Linked DNA regions of Homo sapiens: region 2 is linked to region 1. Evidence: promoter capture Hi-C in 16 types of primary human blood cells and fetal thymus (Javierre and others, 2016). All regions are on one chromosome and are shown on one strand. Each heading gives the region's core, a stretch centred on a gene start or on the middle of the fragment in contact. The rest is flanking DNA. Distances are from core to core; before and after follow the strand shown. Region 1 overlaps NYNRIN (NYN domain and retroviral integrase containing). Region 2 holds the start of IRF9 (interferon regulatory factor 9).

What was found. The method cuts DNA at HindIII sites, captures the fragments that hold promoters and counts their contacts. A CHiCAGO score of 5 or more calls a contact.
Region 2: the fragment with the promoter of IRF9 here is called in contact with a fragment that was not itself captured in region 1 in 1 of 17 cell types (activated CD4 T cells); the score reaches 5.7 in activated CD4 T cells.

The regions. Positions count from the first base shown.
Region 1 is chr14:24,399,648-24,405,970 of GRCh38, forward strand. All of the region lies in intron 2 of NYNRIN (NYN domain and retroviral integrase containing), which reads left to right. Among named protein-coding and RNA genes, the nearest start is that of NYNRIN, 3.8 kb to the left of the region's middle. The HindIII fragment of the contact is 4,166 bases long and covers 645-4,810 here.
Region 2 is chr14:24,160,015-24,166,337 of GRCh38, forward strand. IRF9 (interferon regulatory factor 9) reads left to right here and starts at 1,251. Exons shown (of 9, transcript NM_006084.5): 1 at 1,251-1,324; 2 at 2,130-2,310; 3 at 2,952-3,135; 4 at 3,364-3,494; 5 at 3,864-3,945; 6 at 4,049-4,120; 7 at 4,600-4,941; 8 at 5,833-5,948; 9 at 6,108-6,323. The coding sequence starts at 2,131. The coding sequence ends at 6,182. RNF31 (ring finger protein 31) reads left to right here. Exons shown (of 21, transcript NM_017999.5): 20 at 225-393; 21 at 506-641. The coding sequence ends at 559. RefSeq lists enhancers at 978-1,367, 2,357-2,416. The HindIII fragment of the contact is 4,395 bases long and covers 1-4,296 here.

The DNA of each region.
Region 1 (6,323 bases), core at 1,478-3,977:
CTTCCTTTCCTGCCCCACCCCTTCCCTACGTGTCACCTCTGTCCCTCAAGTGCACTGAGAGCACCTCCTCGGTGTGTGTCCCCCATGAGACTTCCCTGGCCAGGGCCCCAGCATCAGCAGTCCCACTTTTCCATCTGGGGAGCAACTCAAGGCGCTGTATTTCTGTGGCCTCTGCAACACACCTCTTTGTTCTCCACCAAGACTGAAAGGCCCAGGTCCTTCTGTCTCCTTTTAAGTCTCCTTAAATCCTGGGCTGCCCCTTGGAGCCTCTGAGTACTAGGACTGGAGGGGCCTTTAGAGATGCTTCTAGAGTGATACTGGCATTTTACAGATGAGGTACTGGTGGCCAGAGAGGGTAAGGGGCCTGGCTGAGTGCTCAGAGTCAGGTAGGTGAGGTGGTGGGGGTTGGACCAGAACCCAGGGCTCTGGGCTCCCTGCCCCACACTCTTGATGCCACTCAGCTTCTTGCAGGGGTTCAGAGTGGGGTGCAGCCCTCTTCCCAGATTCCCAGCCCTTGGAGATGGGTGGGAGTCTGGGAGGAGGGCTATGGGTTTTCAGATGAAAGGGCTTGCTATGTGGGGCTGGACCTTGGACAGGCCAGATCACAGTGCGCCTCTCTTGCAATCTCCCTGGCTTCTCTCACAAGCTTTTCCTCCCCTTGGGCCTGTCAGATTCCACTGTCCCCCAAGGTTTACCTCTTCCCTTAGATTCCTTTATCTTACTTCTTCTTTGTAGGAATGCCACAGCCTCCCTCTGCCCCAGACCACCTTCCCCTTCACCACGCACACCTACTGCAGATGGGTTTATACCTATATCTTAATTGGTCAAGGCCATGGGTGGGGAGGCCCAGAACTCGGCCAGCCAGCCTGGTAGGCAGGCAGGCTGGGAAGTTCCTCCCTCAACCCCTCTGTGGAGCTGCTAGGTCAGCAGTTTTTCCAATTTTGACAGAGGTGCTAGGAGGGGGAAGGGGTGTCTTCCCAAAGAACATATGTACTGGAGGCCTTGAGAGGAAGACATTTAGAAGCCGGGGTAGGGTAGGCTAACAAGAGGAGTGTTTTGGGTTCTTTGGGTTCTTAATCTTTTTGTTACTTTGAAAGGCAGCAGCTCACCCTCTTAGGGGACTCACACTTTCTTTTTCTTTTTTTTTTTTTTTTGAGATGAAGTTTCACTCTGTTGCCCAGGCTGGAGTGCAATGGCGTGGTCTTGGCTCACTGCAGCCTCCACCTCTGCCTCTTGTGTTCAAGTGATTCTCCTGCCTCAGCCTTCTGAGTAGCTGGGATTACAGGCACGTGCCACCATGCCCAGCTAATTTTTGTATTTTAGTAGAGATGAGGTTTCACCATGTTGGCCAGGTTGGTCTTGAACTCCTGGCCTCAGGTGATCCACCCGCCTTGGCCTCCCAAAGTGCTGGGATTACAGGCATGAACCACTGTGCCGGGCCAGGACTCACACTTTCGGAGGTACCCCCGCCACCCCCTCCTTGCTCAAATCCTGGATTGGCTTCTCCAGGCCTACCTGCTCCGTCTCCCTCTGCTGCTTCAGGGTTCTTCGGACCGCAGATCTCACACCTCAGGCTCCCACTGTAGGCCCAGCTAATGGAATCAGTGGCTCCCTTGATTCCTAGCCCTGTTCCTCCACTCCCCCTTTGTCTTCCCTTTGGGAAAGGCATTGTTGAAAAGTGGGAACCCAGCGTGAGGGGATTCTGGGTAGCTCCCTGCCTTATTTTACACAATGACCATAAAGGAGACTTTGTTGGCAATTTGGAGAAGGAGGACAGGGAAGGTGAGGGGCGGGGGGGGTTAAAGTTTTGTCTCAGGGGTTAGGGGATCTGGGTTTGATATGCTGTCACCAAGTTACAACCAAGATAGGAGGGGTATGGTGAGGAGAGTTTGAGACTGGGGTTTGCTACCTGTTAACTATCTGAACTGGGTGATCAGATCAAATAATTTATCCTCTCTTGAGCCATTTCCCTCATCTATGGAACAGACTATAATAATACCTGGTTCATGAAGAGTTTGTGAGAGTCTGCTGAAATCATGCATGTTACAATACTGTTATAAAATGTGGAGAGCTATAGAGTATAGATGTTAGCTACTATTGTTTTTGACTAGCTGCGTAACTTTGAGCAAGTCCTTTTCCCTCTCTGAGTCTCGATCTCCCTGTTTGTAAAGTGGAAGTCTTGGATTAAATGCTGTCTGAGGTCCAGCGATCTGACACATGAACATTTCCCAAGTGTAAGGATGTCTTGTGGTTCTCATAGGGAGGCAGCGTGGCTGGCCCCAATCTCAGCTGTAGGGACACAGAATCATGCACTTTGTTAGTGGCATACTGAACATAGGCCAACAGGCAGAGAGGACTCTGGGAGACTACAGGTTGCAGGACTGGGGGAGGGCTGATGGTGAGGGTGGCTTGTTGGGGTCTGAGGGGAGGAGGGGTCGAGAAGGATACAGGCTCATCTAGAGAAGGGCCTGAGTGTGTTTCTATGTGGTTGGTTTCTCAGGAAAATCTCTGTAAATCTTGAGTGCTTTAAAATTGTTTTGTTGTGGTGGGATTAAAGAACACTGAAGACATTACTGTGAAACACATACCCAGGCAGCAAAACAAACACTGGGGAGGCCTCTCTGAGGTGAAATCAGTGAGTGGAGAGGCGGGTTTTAGTAATGATCAGAAGAGGCCCGGGACAAGCCCTGCTCCACCCTTCTCCCCTTTGGCAGTGAGGTGAGGATGGGGTGGGCGGCAGAGAAGAGAGGTGACCACTGCGGGAGGTGATGGGGAGCCTAAAGGCAGTGGTGGTGGGCAAGAGTACCTTCTGGAGACTGGGTTCTGGAGCTCTGGGACAGGGTGTGGCCTGCTGACATCTGGCTTGGCTGTCAGATGGAAGTTGAACTATCTTTGCTGCACACTAACTGTGAGCAGTACCCTGAGAGTTGGTTGCGGTCAGTGCCTGGAGTTGGCTCCTATGGACCCACTGTTAAAATTTCGGGAATTGTGCAAGTGAGTGGAGGAGTATTTACAGCCATGGTGGGAGTATTTATGCCACAGAAATTGGCAAATGCGACAAATCAAGGTTACCCCCCACCCCCAGCTGATTGTTAAACATTTACCAGGACACCTGCTTGTGTTGTGGGCACTGAATACTTCTTTTTCTTTAAACTTAAATTTTCTTTTATCAAAGTAATACACATTTGAAAAGTCCAATTTTACCAAAAGGCTTAGAAGAGCACACAGAGGTTCCCTGCCCCGGCCCTCCCAATTCCTCCTTCAGTAACCATCCCCACTGACAGTATTTGCTCTGGCATTTACGCATCTCCACATTTCTAAAAGAATATGTAGACACTATTGTCTTTTAATTAATTGACGTTTGCTGCTATCTTTTTTTGGTCCCATTATCGTATGTGAGGATTGAGCTCCCTTTCACGGCCAGCCCCTCTTCTCAAGATAGTTCTGTTTCAATTACCTGCTAAATCTACGTTTAGCATTGCCTCATTATGCCTTGCACATAGCGTTCACATCGAAGCACTGAAGTGTACTATGATTTTGTTTTCTTTCTTACTTTTTGGGTTTTACTGAGGTCATTGAGGTTAAGCACTCCTTGTTTTTCAATTTGCCTTTCTTTGTACCTATTGTTAATTCTTACCACTTCCAGTAGCCTCTCAGTACAGTTTTCTACAAGGTCAGTCTATCAGTTCAAGGTGTTCTTTTGGTTCTAAATTTTTTCTTGGCGCCGTCTCTCCTGTCTGGTCAGTTGCTTTCCAGGCTGACACAGCTGTCGTTCTTGGCATCCTTTGCCTTTTTTCTTTGCTAGATACTCATGTCCTGGACCTTGAAACTTTTTCTTTCTTGGGTTGATGGAACACATCCCTCTGTAGCCTCAAGTTAAAAAGATGGTGCAGCAGCAAAGTGTATGCAGATGCCTGCTTTCAACATGCCTGTCTCTTGAGTCATACCCTCCAATCTGAACTAGCTGTCCTGTGTAATGACCATTGTCACCCTAAAACAGTGCCTGGCATGTAGTCAAGAATTATTTGTCGAATGGATGAATAAATTCTGAGATTTCTCTTCACCGTCATCCTGGAGATGGTCTTTGCTTCTTTCTTACTTGGTTTGCTGGAAAACTGCTCTCCAGTGGCTTCCCGGGAAAAGTTTTACAGGAGGAAAAATGCTGAGGTTGCATGTCCACGTTGCATAGCCAAAGGATATTTGATTGAGAGCTTGGCTGATATTGAATTATAAAAGGAAAATTATTTTCCTTCAGAAATGTGAGGGTTGTGCTCCATTTGGAGGAGCCTGAAGCTGTTCTGGTCCCTGGTCATTTGTGTGAGATGTTTTTTTCTCTGGAAGTTGTCAGTTTTCCCCAATGTTCTGCAGTCTCCCAGTGAGGCCCCTTTGTGCGGTTCTGTTTTCCTCCATTGTCAGGCACTCTTGTTGTACTTAGGGGGCCTTCTATCTGGACACTCATGTTCCTCAGATCTGGGAAATGTGGGGAAGTATTTAGTCGATGATTTCCTCTCCTGTGCTATCTCTGTCCTCTCTTTCTGGAAGTCCTCTGCTTTTCTTATGTTTTCTCCTCTTTTTCAACTTTAACTTTTTGTTCTGCTTTCTGAAGATTTCCTTAATTTTATCTTTGAAGCCTTTTCTTGGGTCTTTCATTTCTGCCATCAAATTTTTAATGTCTAGAAGTCACTTATATTCTCTCTGTTAAAAAATAGTATCCTACGCTTTTTAAATCCAATTTGAAACGTATGTATTCTATTCTTGTTTAGTGTCTACCATATTCTTTGTTACCTCTCTGAGGATAGAAATGATAGTAAGCTTTTTGAAGTTTTCTTCTCCCCCCTAGTTTCTCTTCTTTCAGGTTGCTTTTTTGTTTTCCTGTATGGTTTGTCCTCTGTGTTTCACATTAGAAGTTTTCCTCACAAGCCTGATAATCCTTGCATGATAAAGAGTGAAGGACAAAAAGCTGATTGGGAGTGGAGGCTGTGGGCAAGACTTGTTGGTTTTGAGCTTGATTGTACAGAGATTTGCAGGTGCTGTTGGTTAGGGACCCCGTTTTGTGATCTTTAAGTCTCTGCTCTTGGGCTGGCCAGGTTTTCCAGAATGTATGCCTGCTTCCCTGGCCTGGAGGGTCAGGGTCTGGCTGCCAAGCAAATCTCTGAGTGGGAAGAATGAGTTTCTCTGCGTTTAGCTTGCATTGTATACATCATTCTTTGGCCCTCCTCACTCCCTCCATGTTTTTTTGTGTGGTGCTCACACCTTCGATTATGCTGATCAACCTCGACTCCTAAGACCTTGTTTTGTACTCCCTGGAGAACAGCCCTCCAGTGAGCGGGAAGCTACTTGCCAAGCCTGTGTGTGTGTGTGTGTGTGTGTGTGTGTGTGTGAGAGAATGTGTGTGTGTGAATGTGTGTGAATGTGTGTGAATGTGTGTGTGTGTGTGTATGTGTGTTGGGAGTGGTTGGGCTCCCAGATCTAACTGCTCCTCAAAGAACCTGGTTTTTCATGTTCCCCTTCACTTCCAATTCCAGAGTTTCTTGTTGTTGTTTTCTGAGCCTTTTGAGTATCCTGCAGTGTAAATTGGGGTGGTTCTGGAAAGTAGACAATGAATGATAACTGACTTATGAGAAAGGAGAACCCTAAGTTAGGTGTTAAGTAATAAAGCACCTTGACAAGTACAGAATAATATTAAAATATGTCATATAAATGCTTTTATTTAACTTACAAGTTGACTAACGACCTGTGGGTATTGGACAATATATTCTTACAAATACAGTGCTCTTTTTCTGTGTCCTTTTCTATTCTTCTGTATCATCTTTCTACCTAGTTGTTAGTTGTTCCTGCCTCTTCTTCTCTACTTTTTCTCCTCTTGGAGGAAGAAGGTCTGGGTTGGCTTTAGGCAGGAAAGCTGTTCAGGTATTTTCAGGCTGTAAATGCCTGTTGTTTCCTTATCTTCTCTCCCTCTACAGTATAGACGGCATCATGGTGAAGACCCCCGACTGTGGAGCTAGAGTGCCTGAGTATCCCAGCCTACTAACTGTGTGATCTTGGACATATGGCCTTCCTTGCTCATCTAAAATGGGGATAATAGTATTTCCTTAAAGGGCAGAGAGAGGAATAAATAAGATAATGTGTGCAAAGTGCCTGACACATAATAAGCTCTCACTAAATATTAGTTCATATTTATTATTTTAAAAATTATCACAGTTCCTATATATTTCTTAATTTTAAAATATCGGGCCGGGCACGGTGGCTCATACCTGTAATCCCAGCACTTTAGGAGTCTGAGGCGGGTGGATCGCGTGAGGTCAAGAGTTCGAGACCAGCCT
Region 2 (6,323 bases), core at 1-2,500, 240 kb before region 1:
GGCATGCCCAGGCAGTAAAATGGGTCCTTGGGAGCAGTAGGTCTTGCAGTGGGTGGGAGGGAGGAGGCTTTCTGGGCAAGGGCATGGGTAGATAGTAGCAGGCAGTGTGGGCACAGGTGGGTTGTTAATCTTGTTCGTCCAGGTGTCTCAGAGTCCAGCTATGTTAGACACACTCAGTTAATATTAGCCAACACAACAAATATTCTGCTCCCTTTTCTCCCCAGGGCACACTACAAAGAGTATCTTGTGAGCCTCATCAATGCCCACTCGCTGGACCCAGCCACCTTGTATGAGGTGGAAGAGCTGGAGACGGCCACTGAGCGCTACCTGCACGTACGCCCCCAGCCTTTGGCTGGAGAGGATCCCCCTGCTTACCAGGCCCGCTTGTTACAGGTATAGCCTCCACCCAGCCTCATCTCTTAACCCACCCTACAGAAGTCACCTGGTGCTGACTGTGTCTGAGCTCCAGGCTTCCAATATCATTACCTTCTCTCTCCTTCTGCAGAAGCTGACAGAAGAGGTACCCTTGGGACAGAGTATCCCCCGCAGGCGGAAGTAGCTGAGGGCAAGGGTCCCGATGAGGGTCCCATGGCCTGCTCCCTCAGGAACAGCTCCAGCACCAATAAAGAGGCATCTTACCACCCAGGCTTCTTGGTGGTCCTTCTTCCTGGTGCCACCATCTAGGGGCACCAGGGAAAGAGCGGGGTGAACAGAGCTTTGCTGAAAAGGGCCCCCTGCAACCTAGTGCCTGACCCTCCCTGGACTCAGGACCAGGAAGGAGTTGACACCCTGGATGGTCAAGGGAGGCCCTCCCCATCCAGCAGCCTGGCCTGGGCTTCCTCCCTCCCTGCCTCCTTTTTTCCTTTCATAGAATTTGACTGGTATTTGAAGTCACCCAATATGTATCAGGTGGGCACTGTGGGGGAATGCAGATGCACAGGTGTACACAGCAGTCCAGAGGTCCCAGGCCTGACTCCAGGAAACTGGCCTCCCTGGGGAAGCCACGGTGTCACCCAGAGGTCAGATAGAAGCAAGAGTATCTGAGGGAGGCAGGGGAATGAGCCAGGCTGGAGCTGAGCCAGCAGGGCAGGGCCCCCCTGCTGCGACAGTGGCATCCTGATAGTGAGATGCTCAGATGCTGCTGCCCTCTAGTGGCCGCCAGTTCCCTGCAACTCAGACCACGTGATTTCTGGGAAAAGGCCCTCCCTGGAGGAGAACTGAAACTTAGGGTGGGGACTGTAGAAAGGGGCGGAGAGATCAGCCGCCCAGCCAGGAGTTAAGCTGAGGTCGTCTGAGCCCTGCGACAGCCTGGACAGCAACTCAGGTAAGATCAGCCAAGGATGGGAGTCAGCCTGGGATCTAGGGCTAGAAAGTCCAGCCAGATTGAGGGCAGGGGGTCCTAGGGGTCGCTCTGTTAGACTGAGGGATAGACAGAAGATCTCTTAAGTCAGGAAGTGGGAGATTCAGCCTGAGAGTGAGACTGACAAGGGCCAGCTCCCCAGACCCTTGTAGGCAAAGGTCAGGAGGACCTACTGCTGGATTGTTCAAGGAAGAAGGCTCCTGGCCCCAGCCTCAGTGGACCATTTGTTTCCTTGCCATCTGGCCCTGCCCACTTCTGCTGCAGCTCCAACCCCACCCCTACTTCCTGCCCCACCTACTCCTGGGGCCGGCAGGGGGTGGGGGTCAGGCTAGGTTGTGTAGGCTGTGGGGCGGTGGGTGAAGAGCCTGATGGATCTCAGCAGAACCTACCTCTGCTGATGCTCGGGAATCTAGACAGGGCCTGTCACCAGGAACGATCACCAAAGGAATTCTTTTGTAAACAATACATCTCTGAAAAGTCCTAAAATTAAGACCAGTGCCCAAGGTTTCCTTCCAGGTATCACAGCTTAGAGTGCTAAAAACAATGTTTTGGGGGGTTTTGTTGTTGTTGTTGTTGTTTGTCACTGCTAGTGATGGCAGAAAGGAAACAATTCTGTCCCATAGAGTGTTGAAATGTGTTTGGAGCTAAAAGAAGATGGATGGGATCTCTGGGACCTGTTGCCAGAATCTAGTCTCAATGGCCAGGGTCTCAGGAGATGTTCCCTCCCAAAGTGTCAGTTCTGATGCATCCTGCTCCTATTATCCCCCAGGATGGCATCAGGCAGGGCACGCTGCACCCGAAAACTCCGGAACTGGGTGGTGGAGCAAGTGGAGAGTGGGCAGTTTCCCGGAGTGTGCTGGGATGATACAGCTAAGACCATGTTCCGGATTCCCTGGAAACATGCAGGCAAGCAGGACTTCCGGGAGGACCAGGATGCTGCCTTCTTCAAGGTGAAAGGGCCTGGAAACCACTGTTCCTCTGTGTGTGGGATGGTGTATACACACTGGTACACTCATCCTCGAGCACTTGCGTCTGCCTGGGTTTCAGATAAGGGACAGATTGGAGAGGAAAACTAGCTGCATCATTTGCAGAGTCCAGTACAAAATGAAAATGTGGAGGCCTTGTTCAAAAATTTTAGGGATATTGGCCAGGCACGGTGGCTCACGCCTGTAATCCCAGCACTTCGGGAGGCCAAGGTGGGTGGATCACGAGGTCAAGAGATCAAGACCAGCCTGGCCAACATGGTGAAACCCTGTCTCTACTAAAAATACAAAACTTAGCTGGGCCTAGCGGTGCATGCCTGTAGTCCCAGCTACTCGGGAGACTGAGGCAGGAGAATCGCTTGAACCAGGGAGGTGGAGTTGTAGTGAGTCGAGATCGCACCACTGCACTCCAGCCTGGTGACAGAGTGAGACTCTGTCTCAAAAAAAAAAAAAAAAAATTTCCAAGGATTTCAAGATGGCAACGCAGAGCACAGACCCTGCATAATCCCTTCTGAGCTCAGAGCTGCACGCCTGTAAAGCCAGTCCTATTGGAGGGGCAGGTGGAGCCTGTAACACACTGCCTCTTCTTCCCTTGCTTTCTTTCCTAGGCCTGGGCAATATTTAAGGGAAAGTATAAGGAGGGGGACACAGGAGGTCCAGCTGTCTGGAAGACTCGCCTGCGCTGTGCACTCAACAAGAGTTCTGAATTTAAGGAGGTTCCTGAGAGGGGCCGCATGGATGTTGCTGAGCCCTACAAGGTGTATCAGTTGCTGCCACCAGGAATCGTCTCTGGTGAGTTTCCCCTTGTCCAACCACTGCTAGACTCAGCAGACTGGGGAGGAAGGATAGATGTGCAGGCTTCCCCCAGGCTTATAGCTCTGCCCTGTCCATGCCCTTGGGGGGCTGCAACCCAGGTTTCCCTTCCTAGACCTGCCCATCCTTCACTGCCTCAGACCTCTCCTTCACCCTCTGTCCTTGCTCAAGACCCTGACCTTTCTCTGTCCCTCAACAATTCCACAGGCCAGCCAGGGACTCAGAAAGTACCATCAAAGCGACAGCACAGTTCTGTGTCCTCTGAGAGGAAGGAGGAAGAGGATGCCATGCAGAACTGCACACTCAGTCCCTCTGTGCTCCAGGACTCCCTCAATAATGTAAGAGATGGAGAGGGAACTGGGTGGGCCTAAGGGCAGGACAGTAACCAGAGGGAGAGGTGGGCCAATGAAAGACACTGTGTCTTGGGAGGCCGAGGCTGGCAGATCACGTGAGGTCAGAAGTTCGAAACCAGCCTCGACCAACATGGTGAGAACCCGTCTCTACTAAAAATACAAAAATTAGCTGTGCGTTGTGGCATCTGCCTGTAATCCCAGCTACTCAGGAGGCCGAGGCAGGAGAATCGCTTGAACCGGGGGGCGGAGATAGCAGTGAGCCGAGATCGCGCCACTGCACTCCAGCCTGGGCAACAAGAGTGAAACTCTGTCTCAAAAAAAGAGAAAAAAAATAAAAAGACACTGTGTCCGCAGGAGGAGGAGGGGGCCAGTGGGGGAGCAGTCCATTCAGACATTGGGAGCAGCAGCAGCAGCAGCAGCCCTGAGCCACAGGAAGGTACCACCTGCCCTGCCTCTTGTGTCGTCCCCCATGCCACACCCTCTGGCCCAAGACTCCCCAGTCCCACTCTGAATGACCAGTGCCTTTGCTTCCCTTCCAGTTACAGACACAACTGAGGCCCCCTTTCAAGGGGATCAGAGGTCCCTGGAGTTTCTGCTTCCTCCAGAGCCAGGTACGTGGCATTTCTGACTTTCTCCTGTGCCCTGTGCCCCTGAGGTCTTCCACCTTTGACTATGCATGCATTATCTAGTCAGTCAGGGCTTACAGCAAACTGTACCCACATTACCATAGCCCTAGGCAGTGGTTTCTAGGTGGCGAGAATTCCATATGCCTGGCCAGACTCCAAAAAGCTTGCTTCCCAAAAATACCACCCTATACACTCTCCTGGAAATCTACATTGAGACATTGATTTCATTGGGCCAAACAGAGGCCCAATCTCAAGGGACCTTCTAGTAAACTACAAGCCCCTGGGCATTGAGCCCTGAGGCCTCATGGTGAATCACATACTAGCTACTTGCCTCAGTGATAGGAAAACCTGAGAGGAAGCCCCCTGGCTGGTGTGGGGAGGGGAGGTGGAGTTGTTCCCCTGGGGAGGGGCTGCTGCCAGCCTGCATGCTCCTCCAGCACCAGGTAGGGCTGTTCTATCCCCAGACTACTCACTGCTGCTCACCTTCATCTACAACGGGCGCGTGGTGGGCGAGGCCCAGGTGCAAAGCCTGGATTGCCGCCTTGTGGCTGAGCCCTCAGGCTCTGAGAGCAGCATGGAGCAGGTGCTGTTCCCCAAGCCTGGCCCACTGGAGCCCACGCAGCGCCTGCTGAGCCAGCTTGAGAGGGGCATCCTAGTGGCCAGCAACCCCCGAGGCCTCTTCGTGCAGCGCCTTTGCCCCATCCCCATCTCCTGGAATGCACCCCAGGCTCCACCTGGGCCAGGCCCGCATCTGCTGCCCAGCAACGAGTGCGTGGAGCTCTTCAGAACCGCCTACTTCTGCAGAGGTGAGGCTGTTCTCTCTGGGCACATGAGCTTCCACCCCCTACCTCTTAGTACCCCCTGGGCCCAACTTGTTGGGTCCTGCTACCTCCCTATCTGCCAGCAGATCCTCCATGTAGCCTATGCATGGCACTCCTGCGCTTGTGTGTTGCATATCCTGTGTGGCCATATGCCCAGCCTGGCAGCTACCTGGCAGCTCTCCTCCAGCCAAGACAATGGAAGAGGTGGTTCAGGTAGAGCCCAGCACAAGAGTGTCATATCTTGGAGAACACCATCACACTGAAGCATGCAGTCACTATGTGAAGGTGCACAGAAGAATTGGCACAGAGATTTTGAGCCTCATGGCCTTCTCCTACGTACACACATTTGGGAGAGCTGGCACACATCACACACACTGGCCCTGGCTGCACCGTCTTTACCACACTCCAGGCATGCCTTAGGGTTGCGCTTCTCTCCCATCCAATTCCAGCTCCTACTCAATTCTAAACCTGACCTTAAGAGTGGGACCAGGTGTACAGGGGGTGCAGAGTGTGGGTGTTCCCAGGGCCATGGGTGCCCTAGCACTGGGAGGATGTGAGCAAGTAGCAAAGGTCTGGGCACATCTGAGTTAGCAGCCAGGGCTGCTACCTGGGAGGACTCTAAACTCTCCCAGCAGAGAGCTTGTCGGGCTGTGCTGTGATCTGCTACTTCTAAGCACTTATATGAGGCAGGGGCACCCTTTCCTATTTGCACATGGGTGAGTAGCACTTAGTTCCAAGTACTTCTGACCTTGCAGCTCCTGCTCTGGCAAGACCCCCTCCTACCTCTCTCCATCATGGGTTCCTCACTATTGCCTCCCTGCCTGTGGCCCTCTCTCTTCTTTTTGTTCTTCGAACCCTTGACCCTTTCTCTTTCAGACTTGGTCAGGTACTTTCAGGGCCTGGGCCCCCCACCGAAGTTCCAGGTAACACTGAATTTCTGGGAAGAGAGCCATGGCTCCAGCCATACTCCACAGAATCTTATCACAGTGAAGGTGAGCTCGGAGCAGGGGTAGAGTACCCATCTAATGAGAGCAGAGACAGTGGTGCTCCAGGAGGCAAAGGGGGTCTCCCAGTGGGGAAGGAGCTCCTGGGGGTGGTGTCTGTCCCTGATGCACGCACTGAGATGCTCTTCTCCATCTCTTCCAATACAGATGGAGCAGGCCTTTGCCCGATACTTGCTGGAGCAGACTCCAGAGCAGCAGGCAGCCATTCTGTCCCTGGTGTAGAGCCTGGGGGACCCATCTTCCACCTCACCTCTTTGTTCTTCCTGTCTCCTTTGAAGTAGACTCATTCTTCACACGATTGACCTGTCCTCTTTGTGATAATTCTCAGTAGTTGTCCGTGATAATCGTGTCCTGAAAATCCTC